3 separate regions of the Homo sapiens genome follow, and regions 1 and 3 are each linked to region 2. Evidence: promoter capture Hi-C in human tissues and cell types (Jung and others, 2019). All regions are on one chromosome and are shown on one strand. The core of a region is centred on a gene start or on the middle of the fragment in contact, and the rest is flanking DNA. Distances in the headings are between cores, read along the strand shown.

What was found. Contacts are between HindIII fragments. The study calls those that stand out against the background at their distance.
Region 1: a contact is called between the fragment with the promoter of CAMP here and the fragment with the promoter of UQCRC1 in region 2, in 4 of the 25 tissues and cell types used here (IMR-90 fibroblasts, lymphoblastoid cells, small bowel and 1 more).
Region 3: a fragment that was not itself captured here is called in contact with the fragment with the promoter of UQCRC1 in region 2 in 1 of the 25 tissues and cell types used here (bladder).

Annotation. Positions count from the first base shown.
Region 1 is chr3:48,222,076-48,226,223 of GRCh38, forward strand. It overlaps CAMP (cathelicidin antimicrobial peptide), which reads left to right and starts at 1,420. Exons shown (of 4, transcript NM_004345.5): 1 at 1,420-1,637; 2 at 2,279-2,386; 3 at 2,528-2,599; 4 at 3,218-3,410. The coding sequence starts at 1,437. The coding sequence ends at 3,349. RefSeq lists enhancers at 765-884, 905-1,034, 1,045-1,094 and a silencer at 1,104-1,398. The HindIII fragment of the contact is 5,660 bases long and covers 265-4,148 here.
Region 2 is chr3:48,607,705-48,611,292 of GRCh38, forward strand. It overlaps UQCRC1 (ubiquinol-cytochrome c reductase core protein 1), which reads right to left and starts at 1,942. Exons shown (of 13, transcript NM_003365.3): 1 at 1,848-1,942; 2 at 1,458-1,598. The coding sequence starts at 1,916. RefSeq lists a silencer at 1,563-1,662 and enhancers at 1,833-1,932, 2,012-2,526, 2,223-2,332. The HindIII fragment of the contact is 22,312 bases long and covers 1-3,588 here.
Region 3 is chr3:48,245,717-48,249,843 of GRCh38, forward strand. It overlaps ZNF589 (zinc finger protein 589), which reads left to right. Exons shown (of 4, transcript NM_016089.3): 2 at 1,909-1,961. Among named protein-coding and RNA genes, the nearest start is that of ZNF589, 6.7 kb to the left of the region's middle. The HindIII fragment of the contact is 4,289 bases long and covers 1-3,863 here.

The sequences.
Region 1 (4,148 bases), core at 170-2,669, 390 kb before region 2:
GGGAGGAAGGAGCCAAAGGTGCTTCAGGGCTCATGCAGTGGGCACTCAGCAGAAGAGCAGTCAAGGAGGCCCAGTGGGGACAACCGGGACGTTCATGGGAGTCTCGAACTCAGAGATACAGACTGGGTGGTGTCTGCCTATTATAACTGGTGTCCTGGGAGAGGGCGTCCCCAGGGAAACCCGAGGCCAGGGAAGAGAAGCAGCCCAGGAGGTGACCCCACACGCTCTCAATATTAAGAAGACAGCCCTTAGGGGAGACCAAGAAGGAGCCACCAGGGAGGCAGGAGGGACAGCAGGAGAGTGGCATCAGGGGAGACCGGGGCAGCAAGAAGGAAGGCTCACCAGTGCCTGTGCAGACAAAGACCAGGCTTGAGGGTGGCCATGGACCAAGGGTGGGTTGGCCAGCCTTCAGTGGCCTTCAGCATGAAGAAGAGTGAAAAGATGGGGTCAAGAAGCGTAGACAACCTTTCCTAAGACTTGGCTTGGGAGAAGCCATGGTGAAAGGCCATGTCTGGAGGGGCTTGGGAACATTTTGAGACTGAAAAAAACAGTGAAGAAGGATGCAGAAGGGGATAGATGGAGCAGAGCCTTCGTCTGGCTGACGGCTGGGTCCAGAGAGCATGTGGTATGGCCTTGAACTGAAAGGGCAACTTGTCCCTTGCAAGAGTGAGTCTCTAGGTTGGGGGTGGCTACTGTCTTCATTTACCAGTTCTTTTTTTTTTTTTTCATACTGAGTCTCACTCTGTTACCCAGGCTGGAGTGCAGTGGCATGATCTCAGCTAACTGCAACTTCTGCTTCCCGGGTTCAATGGGTTCAAGTGATTCTCATGCCTCAGCTTGTAGCTGGGACTACAGGTGTGAGCCATCATGCGTGGCTAATTTTCATATTTTTAGTAGAGATGGGGTTTCACCATGTTGGCCAAGCTTGTCTCGAACTCCTTATCTCAGGTGATCCGCCCACCTTGGCCTCCCAAAGTGCTGGGATTATAGGCGTGAGCCACCGTGCCCTGCCTCATTCATCAATTCTTAATCGATGCCTACAGGGTGCCAGGCAATGCCTAGAGCTGGAGATTTAGCAGTCCATCATACTGACTCCTGAGGAGTAGAAGGATGTAGAATAGGCACCTGGCTCTCTTCCTCTCTGGAGGGATTTAACGCTCTTGAGCACCCCTGGCTATGACAATCTCCGGTCAGGTCTGGGAGGTTGTCAGAGATGAAGAAACCACTTCCTCATCTTGCACACAAGGAAGGCCTCACTCACTGCCCAGCAAGTCCTGTGAAGCAATAGCCAGGGGCTAAAGCAAACCCCAGCCCACACCCTGGCAGGCAGCCAGGGATGGGTGGATCAGGAAGGCTCCTGGTTGGGCTTTTGCATCAGGCTCAGGCTGGGCATAAAGGAGGCTCCTGTGGGCTAGAGGGAGGCAGACATGGGGACCATGAAGACCCAAAGGGATGGCCACTCCCTGGGGCGGTGGTCACTGGTGCTCCTGCTGCTGGGCCTGGTGATGCCTCTGGCCATCATTGCCCAGGTCCTCAGCTACAAGGAAGCTGTGCTTCGTGCTATAGATGGCATCAACCAGCGGTCCTCGGATGCTAACCTCTACCGCCTCCTGGACCTGGACCCCAGGCCCACGATGGTGAGCTTTGGGGGACATTCTGCTCTGCTCTGGCTGGGCTTGGCCACGTGTTGTTCCTTCTGCTCCTGCTGCACTGCCTGCCAGGAGGGCATCTCCCCCTTTAAATGTGGTCCCGTGTTTTCCAGGGAACCTTCTAGAGCTCGTGTCTCCTCCCAGCTCGAGAGCTTCCTGCCTTATAATTCCTGCTGTGGCAGAGATACCCTCACCCCGACCCCACGCAGGTTTTGGGACTTCTGCGAGCTCCAGGCACTAGAATGGGGTCATTGGCTCTGGGCAGTGACCTCCTCTGCTTTAAGTCTCTTCTGTACCACGTTACCCCACATAGGGAAGAACTCTATCCAGACTTTAGGTTCCAGTGGGCATGTCTTGTCCCCCAGGAAGCCCCCTGACTTCCCTTGCCCCCACCCCAGAGTGGGAGGGGCTCCTTGTTAGAGCTCATCTGAGGTCTGCTCCTACTCACTGTTCACCTAGGAGGGTAGGAATGGCTCAGTCCTCCTCCCCTCAATGCCCCAGTGCCAAGCCCAGCACCCAGTGCCCGTCGCACATCAGGTACTGTGGAAAGCCTGCCCTCTTGGTGGGGAGGTCATGGACACAAATCAGAAAATACAAGAATGGGCCTCCCCATTTCCTCCTCTGACTAGGATGGGGACCCAGACACGCCAAAGCCTGTGAGCTTCACAGTGAAGGAGACAGTGTGCCCCAGGACGACACAGCAGTCACCAGAGGATTGTGACTTCAAGAAGGACGGGGTGAGGCTGGGGGCTGGGGGTGTTGGTGGGTGCCTCCCAAGGAGCTGAACAGGGGGCACCTGGGGAATATTTCCCACTGGGATGTGGCTGGGAGGTCATGGCAAATGGTTTCAAGTTTGACCTTGAGCTTCTCCTTTCCAGCTGGTGAAGCGGTGTATGGGGACAGTGACCCTCAACCAGGCCAGGGGCTCCTTTGACATCAGTTGTGATAAGGTGAGTGGGCTGTTCTGGGATGCAGGGGCTGATGGGGGCATAGAGTGTGGACCATCCAATGGGTCAATTAACTACTCCCCCAACCCAGGACAGAGAAAGCCCCTCCTACCCAGGGCTCTTCCCCAAACCTGAGTTCCATCTCCAGGGCCGGCTCTGGAATCCCTTAGAGCGGTAGATCTCCAAGTGTAGCCCTTCCTGGGGACTCGTTAGATATGCAAATTCTCAGGCCCTACTCAGACCTACTCAGACAGACTCTGGGTAGGGCCCAGAAATTCGTATTTTGATAAGCTTTCCAGGAGATTCCGGCTTCTGTAAAGTTTGAGAGCCACTGTCTAAGAGTACTCAGCTCTCAGCCCTGTGTTCCCATCTCAGTGTTGCTGGGCTGGGCTGTGTGACCCTGCAGAGCCCCTCACTATCTCCGGGACTCTGTTTTCTCATCTTTTTATTGGGTGTAGGGATTCAATCACATGCTTCAAAGGTCACAGCCAGAGGTTGAACTGGGGCCCCAAAGCTCCTGCGGGGGCCCACGAAGAGGGGCGTCTAGGTGGGGAGGGGTCTTGGATTGACCCTGGGTACATCCCCGACAAGGAACCTGTTTCTTCCTGTACACAACCCCAGGATAACAAGAGATTTGCCCTGCTGGGTGATTTCTTCCGGAAATCTAAAGAGAAGATTGGCAAAGAGTTTAAAAGAATTGTCCAGAGAATCAAGGATTTTTTGCGGAATCTTGTACCCAGGACAGAGTCCTAGTGTGTGCCCTACCCTGGCTCAGGCTTCTGGGCTCTGAGAAATAAACTATGAGAGCAATTTCCTCAGGCTTCAGTCTCACTTGTTTTGCCTCCTCTCTCTCACCACAACTGAGCCCTTAGCTCAGGGAGTCCACGTGTGAGTGTGAGTGTGTGTGAGTGTGACACAGAGGTGGCGAGGGCAGTGTTCCATCCAGGAGGACACAGGGTAAGGCAGTAGGGCCAAGAGATCCAAGATGGCATTCCCATTCTCAGTGGAACCCCCAGTGGGGAATTAAGGAGCTCTACTCTGTGTGTGGTGGTGGGGGAATGCTGTGGAGCTGTTCCTGCTCATGGGGAGGTGACATTCAAGGGAGGGGCCAAGCGTGTTGTTAACACTCAGAGAAGCATGGTCCAGTCCCATGGGTGGCTGGCCAACTGGGTGCGGTCTCCCTGCAGGTACAATTCCCATAAAATTCCAATGCTTCCTAAAAGACTTAACTCAGGAAAGCCCATAACTCCTGGCATTTCCTCTGGCATTGGGACACATCACAGTTTCTTCAGGTGGGTAGCAGATTTAACTTGTGAGCTTGTGTTTAGGGATTGTTAAAAACAAGAATATGGCCAGACGTGGTGGCTCACACCTGTAATGCCAGGACTTTGGGAAGCGAGGCGGGTGGATTGCTTGAGGTCAAGAGTTTGAGACCAGCCTGGGCAACATAACAAACCCTGTCTCTACTAAAAATACAAAAATGAGCTGGGCATGGTGGTGCGTGCCTGTAGTCCCAGCTACTCGGGAGGCTGAGGTGGGAGGATTGCTTGAG
Region 2 (3,588 bases), core at 692-3,191:
TAAGCCACTGTGCCCCGCCCACAAGTGTGATGTCATTACAGGCACAGAATGCACAAGTAGTCAAATCAGGGATTCTGAATTATCCATCACCAGAATAACAAACCTTGTACCCATTAAGTAATTTCTTTTTTTTTTTTTGAGATGGACTCTCGCTCTCTCACCCAGGCTGGAGTGCAGTGGCTCCATCTCGGCTCACTGCAATCTCTGCCTCCCGGGTTCAAGCGATTCTCTTGCCTCAGTCTCCCCAGGAGCTGGGATTACAGGCGTGTGCCATGCATGGCTAATTTTTGTATTTTTAGTAGAGATGGGGCTTCACTATGTTTGCCAGGCTGGTCTTGAACTCCTGGCCTCAGCTGATCCGCCTGCCTTGGTCTCCCAAAGTGCTGAGATTACAGGTGTGAGCCTCCAGGCCTGGACCCATTAAGTAGTTTCTCATCATCCACCCCTTCATCCTTCCAAGTCTTCACTGTCCATCATTCCACTCTCTACATCTGTATGTACGTATTTTTTAGCTCCCACTGATAAGTGAGAACATGTGATATTTGCTTTCCTAAGAGATGTCAATGCATATACCATATATCACACAATCTTAGATGAACATGTATTTCACATCTAACATCTTGGAATGCAAGAGGCATTTTACAATCTATAGTATCCTTTGATTAAAATTGGCAAGATTCTTGAGATTCTTTCTCTGGCACTGGAGCACAGACAGCTCCTTACAATCTAGCACATTTTAGAGTTCATGTAATATAGCATTCTTTACTATAACAAGTGACATATAACAAGGAAGTTGCAGGCCACCTTTTCCTATGCTTAGTAACAATTTAAATCGCAGGACATTGTTTCTGGAAAACTAAAAGGATGTGTCAATAAAAACATCTGGCCCTGGGGCTGGGGGCTGAAAGGAGGAGGAGATAATTATTTCTTGGGAATCTTCTCACCTATTCATATATCTATCTGTGACTCAAGATTTCTTGTGTCAATTTAGAGAATTTGTATTTTTTGGAAAATCACACATTTCATTGTACTGTTAAAATGCATTTGCTTCCTAAAATGTATTTCTGGTCTAGCCTGGAGATTATGACCTTGGGCAGTGAGGCTGACAGACCTGGACCCCTGCAAGTCACCTAAGGTGTCTGAATCCCATTTTCCGCATTATAAGAGGAGACATGATCACTTCCCTTATATGGGCTCCTTAACAAAAGGCTGGAAAAGAATTTGGCCGCCTACTTAACGGGCATTATATGCTAAATAATGTTGGCTTATAGTGAAGATTGTCCCGTGAAGCCAAGGCGTGGCTAGGGTAGGGAATGGGGCCATTCTCGGGGTGAGTGGTCCTGGGTCCGAACCCAAACCACAAACGGGAAGACTCGAGCCCAAGGTCACACCCCAACCAGGGAAAAGACGGCAGGCCCAACCTGGAGGCCCTCTCCCCAAAAGCGTCCCCAACTCACCGTGCAAGTGGGCTGAGAGGACTGCTCGGAGGCCACACGCAGGCCGTTGTCCAGCAGGCTAACCTGCGTCTCCGGCACGAACTGGAGCGCCTGAGCGAAGGTTGCCGTACTCCGCAAGGCTGGCGTCCGCAGCAGGGCCGGCTGTGGAAGGGAACAGCCGCGAGTGAGGACTCGGTCAGGGGATCGCTCCCCACCTCCCAGGTCCTCAGGAGGACCCCCGAACCCCGCCCCTAGGCAAGCGGCGAGATACCTTTCCCCGCCCTCCGCCGTGACCTTCCCACGGCCCTGACCCCGCGTCCTCCCCACCTCGACCTGCCACTGCTAACAGCCCACACCTGTCCGCTTCCCGAAGCCCTGTCCCGAAGCCCCGCGCTCTCGCCACCACCTCACCGAGCGGCGGGCGCGCAATAGCACTTGTGCCCCGGCGGTAGCGGCCCGACAGACCACGGACGCCGCCATCTTCCAGCTGCAGTCGGCCCTGTTGCGCCGCGCAAGCGTAGACTGGGCGCGTTGGCGGTCGCGGCGCAGGCGCAGTACCGTACAGTTGGTGCTCGGCCGCCTCCTGGCGGGAACCGGGACAGTCTATTGTGCTGGCCTGGCTTTGGCTGACTGGCTCTGACCGCGCTGCCGCCAGTCCCTGCGCACATCAGTCCACCTGCCGTCCATCAGCCCGAGCAGGTCCGCCCGCCGTGCAGTCCATCTCCCCATTCCACGCGTGGAAGTCAGAGTGCATTATGTTTCTCACCAGCCGCGCTGCGTACTGAGGTCTGGCGGGCGGGGAGTTGCAGCCACAGCGTGTCCGCAGGTTCGAGCCCAGGGCTAAAGTACCAGCGTGGAAACTTACCTGGGACCACAAGTTGGTGCTGAAAGTCAGTATTTTTTTCTCTTTATTTATTTTTTATTTTCTGAGACAGGGTCTCGCTCTGTCGCCCAGGCTGGAGTGCAATGGCGCGATCTCGGCTCACTGCAACCTCCGCCTCCCGGCTTCAAGCGATTCTCCTGCCTCAGCCTCCCGAGTAGCTGGGATTATGCCCGGTAATTTTTGTTTCTTTAGAAGAGACAAGGTTTCTCCATGTTGGCCAGTTTTGCGCCCTGCCAGTTTTCTCTTTAAAAGAACTAAGTACAGGCCGGGAGCGGTGGCTCACTCCTGTAATCCCAACACTTTGGGAGGCCGAGGCAGGTGGATCACTTGAGGCGAGGAGTCCAAGACCAGCCTGGCCAACATGGTGAAACCTTTCCTTTTCTGTAAGAGGAAAAAGAATTCTGGCTGGGTGCAGTGGCTCATGCCTGTAATCCCAGCACTTTGGAAGGCCGAGGTGGGCGGATCACCTGAGGTCGGGAATTTGAGACCAGCCTGACCGACATGGAGAAACCCCGTCTCTACTAAAAATACAAAAGTAGACGGGCGTGGTGGCGCATGCCTGTAATCCTAGCTACTCCAGAGGCTGAGGCAGGAGAATCACTTGAACCCGGGAGGCGGAGGTTGCGGTGAGCCGAGATCGCGCCATTTCCAGCCTGGGCAACAAGAGCGAAACTCCGTCTCAAAAAAAAAAAAAAAAAAAAAAAAAGACTTCTAAGGTATGCTTTGTTATGTCAACTAAAGAAAAAAAAAAACAAGCTTTTAAATATTTAAAGTTAGTTCTATTCAGAAGTCTTACCAAGAATTGCAACCCGGGAGAGCCTTTCAGGGAGTTTCTGCTAGACTGCTCCAAAGCAGTGTTTCCGACAGTTTATACACTGGTGGTGGCGGCTCTCCATGTGCTCAGAAATTACATCAAATGTGCTCAGAAGTTACATTAGAGCATAAATCTCATCAAGGTTTGGGTGCAAGAGTACATCTGTTTATAGGTCACAGAAGCATAATCATTAATCCTGTCAGACAGTATCTTAAGTACAGGAAGAGGCAAGGGCTAGGATCATTGCATTTTTTACCATGTTGGCCAGGCTGATATCAAACTCCTGGCCTCAAGCAATCCACCCACCTCAGCCTCCCAAAGTGCTAGGATTACAGGGGTGAGCCACCACACCTTACCCAAAAACTACTCTTATACTTAAAATAAAACTATCTTTATAAAAATCATGCCAGATGCCATGACCACAGGCTCTCACACCACACCCAGCTAATTTTTTT
Region 3 (4,127 bases), core at 469-2,968, 360 kb before region 2:
CAGGCAGATCACCTGAGGTCAGGAGTTCGAGACCAGCCTGGCCAACATGGTGAAACCCTGTCTCTACCAAAAATACGAAAATTAGCCAGGCATGGTGGCAGGTGCCTGTAATCCCAGCTACTTGGGAGGCTGATGCAGGAGAATTGCTTGAACCCAGGAGGCGGAGGTTGCAGTGAGCTGAGATCGTGCCATTGACCTTCAGCCTGGGTGACAGAGTGAGACTCTGTCTCAAAAAAAAAAAAACAGATATGGCAGGGAAAGCTTGAGCTTCCCTCCAGAGATGTTAAAATCTTACCTTTTAAAATTCCACAATAGGCCAGGCGTCGTGGGTCATGCCTATAATCCCAGCACTTTGAGAGGCCAATGTGGGCAGATCACTTAAGGTCGGGAGTTCGAGACCAGCCTAGCCAGCATGGTGAAACCCCCATCTCTACAAAAAATACAAAAATTAGCTGGGCATGGTGGTGCATGCCTGTAATCCCAGGGAAGTTGAGGTGGGAGGATCACTTGAGCCCAGGAGGTGGAGGTTGTAATGAGCAGAGATTGTGCCACTGCATTCCAGCCTGGGCAATAGTGAGACCCTATCTCAATCAATCAATCAATCAATCAGTTCCACAATAATTTGAAGAGGAATGAGAGTCTGACAAGCTGCGCTTTAGAAATGCTGTTGTAATGGTCTTTAATACTTTTTTCTCCTTTTACTCATGCTCTTTTGTAAAATAAGGAATAACATTGACAAGTTTTTAAAACAATATAATAATTATTATTTTTATTATTAGAGATGTGGGTCTCATTGTCACCCAGGCTGGTCTTGAAGCCGTGGATTCAAGTGATCCTCCCACCTCAGCCTCCCAAAGTGTTAGGATTACAGGCGTGAGCCACTGAAACCGGCCTGACACATTTTTAAAAAATATTTTCATTAAATCACAGACTTCTGTTTCTGTGTTTAACATTTTCTTTTTTTTTTCTTGAGACGGAGTCTCGCTCTGTCGCCCAGGCCGGAGTGCAGTGGTGCGATCTCGGCACACTGCAAGCTCTGCCTCCCGGGTTCATGCCATTCTCCTGCCTCAGCCTCCTGAGTAGCTGGGACTACAGGTGCCCGCCACCACACCCAGCTAATTTTTTGTATTTTCAGTAGAGATGGGGTTTCACTGTGTTAGTCAGGATGGTCTCGATCTCCTGACCTTGTGATCGGCCTGCCTCGGCCTCCCAAAGTGCTAGGATTACAGGCGTGAGCCACCGCGCCTGGCCTAACATTTTCATAAACTATTTTCGAGATGGAGTTTTGCTGTTGCCCAAGCTGGAGTGCAGTGGCGTGATCTCTGCTCACTGCAACCTTCGCCCCCTGGGTTCAAGCGATTCTCCTGCCACAGCCTCCTGAGTAGCTGGGATTATAGGCGTGCACTACCATGCCTGGCTAATTTTTTTATTTTTAGTGGAGTTGGGGTTTCTTTGTCATGTTGGTCAGACTGGCCTCAAACTCCTGACCTCAAGTCATCTGCCTGCCTCGGCCTCCCAAAGTTCTGGTATTATAGGCGTGTGCCACTGTGCTCGGTCCATTTTCATAAATTAAAAAAAAACATGTAACTAGAGTCACATAACACATGGGGGGAAATGATGCCTTGTCTCAACAGTTTTGCTAATTTTTAGGGTAGAAAGATGATGAGTGCTTAGAGTTTACCTTACTACATTTAATTAAGATCAGTGTTTCTGTAAAAATGTAATAGGGAAGTGGTGCAGAGCATAGAGAAGTTGACTCAAGCATAAGGCAGGAGGTGAGAGGAGCTCAGGGTCTGGGTCAGCTGAGAAGGCTCAGGTGGCCACAGCCAAGGCTCAGAGGGCTCTTGGGGATCCTCATGATGGGCCTGGTAGGGCTGGCTTCTCAAGGTTGCTTCTTTCTTTCCCCAGCTCTGCCTGCCAAGGATTCTGCCTGGCCCTGGGAAGAGAAGCCTAGATATCTGGTGAGTTGGGCCCGCCCTTCTCTTTTCTGAAATGCTGGCTCATTTCTCAGAGAATGGGCTCATCTGTCTTTCTTGGGAAGGGAGGAAGTGATTAACATTTAAGTGGTTTATGCCTTGTGTTAGCCATTGTTCTAGGCTTATTATAATGGTTTTTGCACTTAGTCTTTCTATTTTTTGAGCTTATACAAAAACATGACCAAGTTTAATTTTAATTCAGAGTATTCTAAAATATAATGGTAACTTTTTATAAAAACCTTGGGTTATTAAGATCCTAAAATGCACTATTAAAGTTCCCTACATCAACATTTGCACAAATAGTTATAACACTTTAATAGTATCTAATAGTCTGATCTTGTACATTGGACCTCTTTTTCACATTTTGTTTTAGAAAACAAAGATGCAAAAGTAGAAAAAGAGTTAACTCTTCTGTATCCATCATCCCACTTCAGCAGTTATCAACTCATGGCCAATTTTATTTCATCTCCATTCCCACTGGATTAAAGAAAATCCAAGGCATCATACCATTTAATCCATAAATATTTCAGTCCTGTGTTTAAATCATTAACAGCTGTAGGAGATGGGTGGTGACATCCCCATTTTCGAGATGAGATCATCTGGCTTAGAGGGATTACGTGATTTATGCACAGGGACACGTGGATGGCCAAATGGTAGAGTCAGGAATTAAATCCAGATTTCTCTGATCTCAAACCATGAATTTTCTGTGATGCCTTCTTGACTGTTTTTTTCTCCTAGAAAACTACCCAATGATAAAAGAACACACTTTCCAACTCTACGAAATGGGGTTATGTTTTGGATGAAGAGCCTCATAGAGTTCACCCCCTTGTTCTGATGTTGCATATCCCTCTCCCCCAACCCCTGTGATCTTTGCTATACCAGAAATTTAATTTATTGGTTTCTGGGCACAGGACTGTGTGAGATTCTGGGAGCTAGCCAAATAGAGTTGTTAAATTCACTGTCCTTATTCTCAAAGATCCAAGATTCTTTAGGAAATGATGCATAGAGACAGGAAATAATGACACTGGTAATAATTATGATGAAGACAGCTAAAACTGTAAAATAGTACAGGGAAAGACTAAGTGTTAGCCTGTAGCTGTTAAAACAATGCACAGCCACAAAGAATGGTCTTAGGTTTGGATTGATAATCAAATTCATGGTATGCAATGTACTTTAACCCTGCATTAAATTCGCGTAGCTTCATGAAGGGATAGAGTATAGGAGACATAGTAGGCACACCATTCTTCTCAGGAGGTTTTGTACCAGTCTCTAGGGCAGCTTCCAGGCCATAGGGGCCAAGCTTGATTGATACAGATGAGGGTGACTTGGGAGCAAATTACTTCATTATCAGGGAAGCAGCTGCCTTTATCCTTTATTTTCCCGTATTCCCTTCTCTGCCCCAACCTTTTTTTTTCTTTTTTTTTTTTGAGACAGAGTTTCGCTCTTGTCGCCCAGGCTGGAGTGCAATGGCATGATCTCGGCTCACTGCAACCTCCGCCTCCTGGATTCAAGCGATTCTCCTGCCTCAGCCTCCTGAGTAGCTGGGATTACAGGCACGCACCACCACACACAGCTAATTTTTGTATTTTTAGTAGAAACAGGGTTTCACCATGTTAGCCAGGCTGGTCTCGAACTCCTGACCTCAGGTGATCTGCCTGCCTCGGCCTCCCACAGTGCTGGGATTATAGGCATGAGCCACTGCGCCCGGCCCATCTTATGTTTTCATGCGCTTCAGAGTAAGTTGCAGATCTCAATACATTTCACCTCTGAATACTTCAGCATGCATATTATTAAGTAGAATTCAATATCGTTTCTGATTTTTTTCTGAGGTAAAATGTACATACAGTGAAATGCACAAATTTTGAGTTTACCTTTTGAGTTCAGCACTTCTATAGCTATTCGTTAGGCATTCACATAGCTTCCTTTTTTTGATGTGTCTGTTCAAAGTTTTGACACATTTAAAACAATTTATGATTGACATATAATGTTTGTACCTTTTTATGGGGTACAATGTGATGTTTTCACACATGTATACCTTGCGTAATGATCAAATCGGGGTAATTAGCATATCCATCACCTTAAACATTTATCGTTTCTTTGTGATGAGAACATCCAAAAGCCTCTTTTCTAGCTATTTTGAAATATACAATT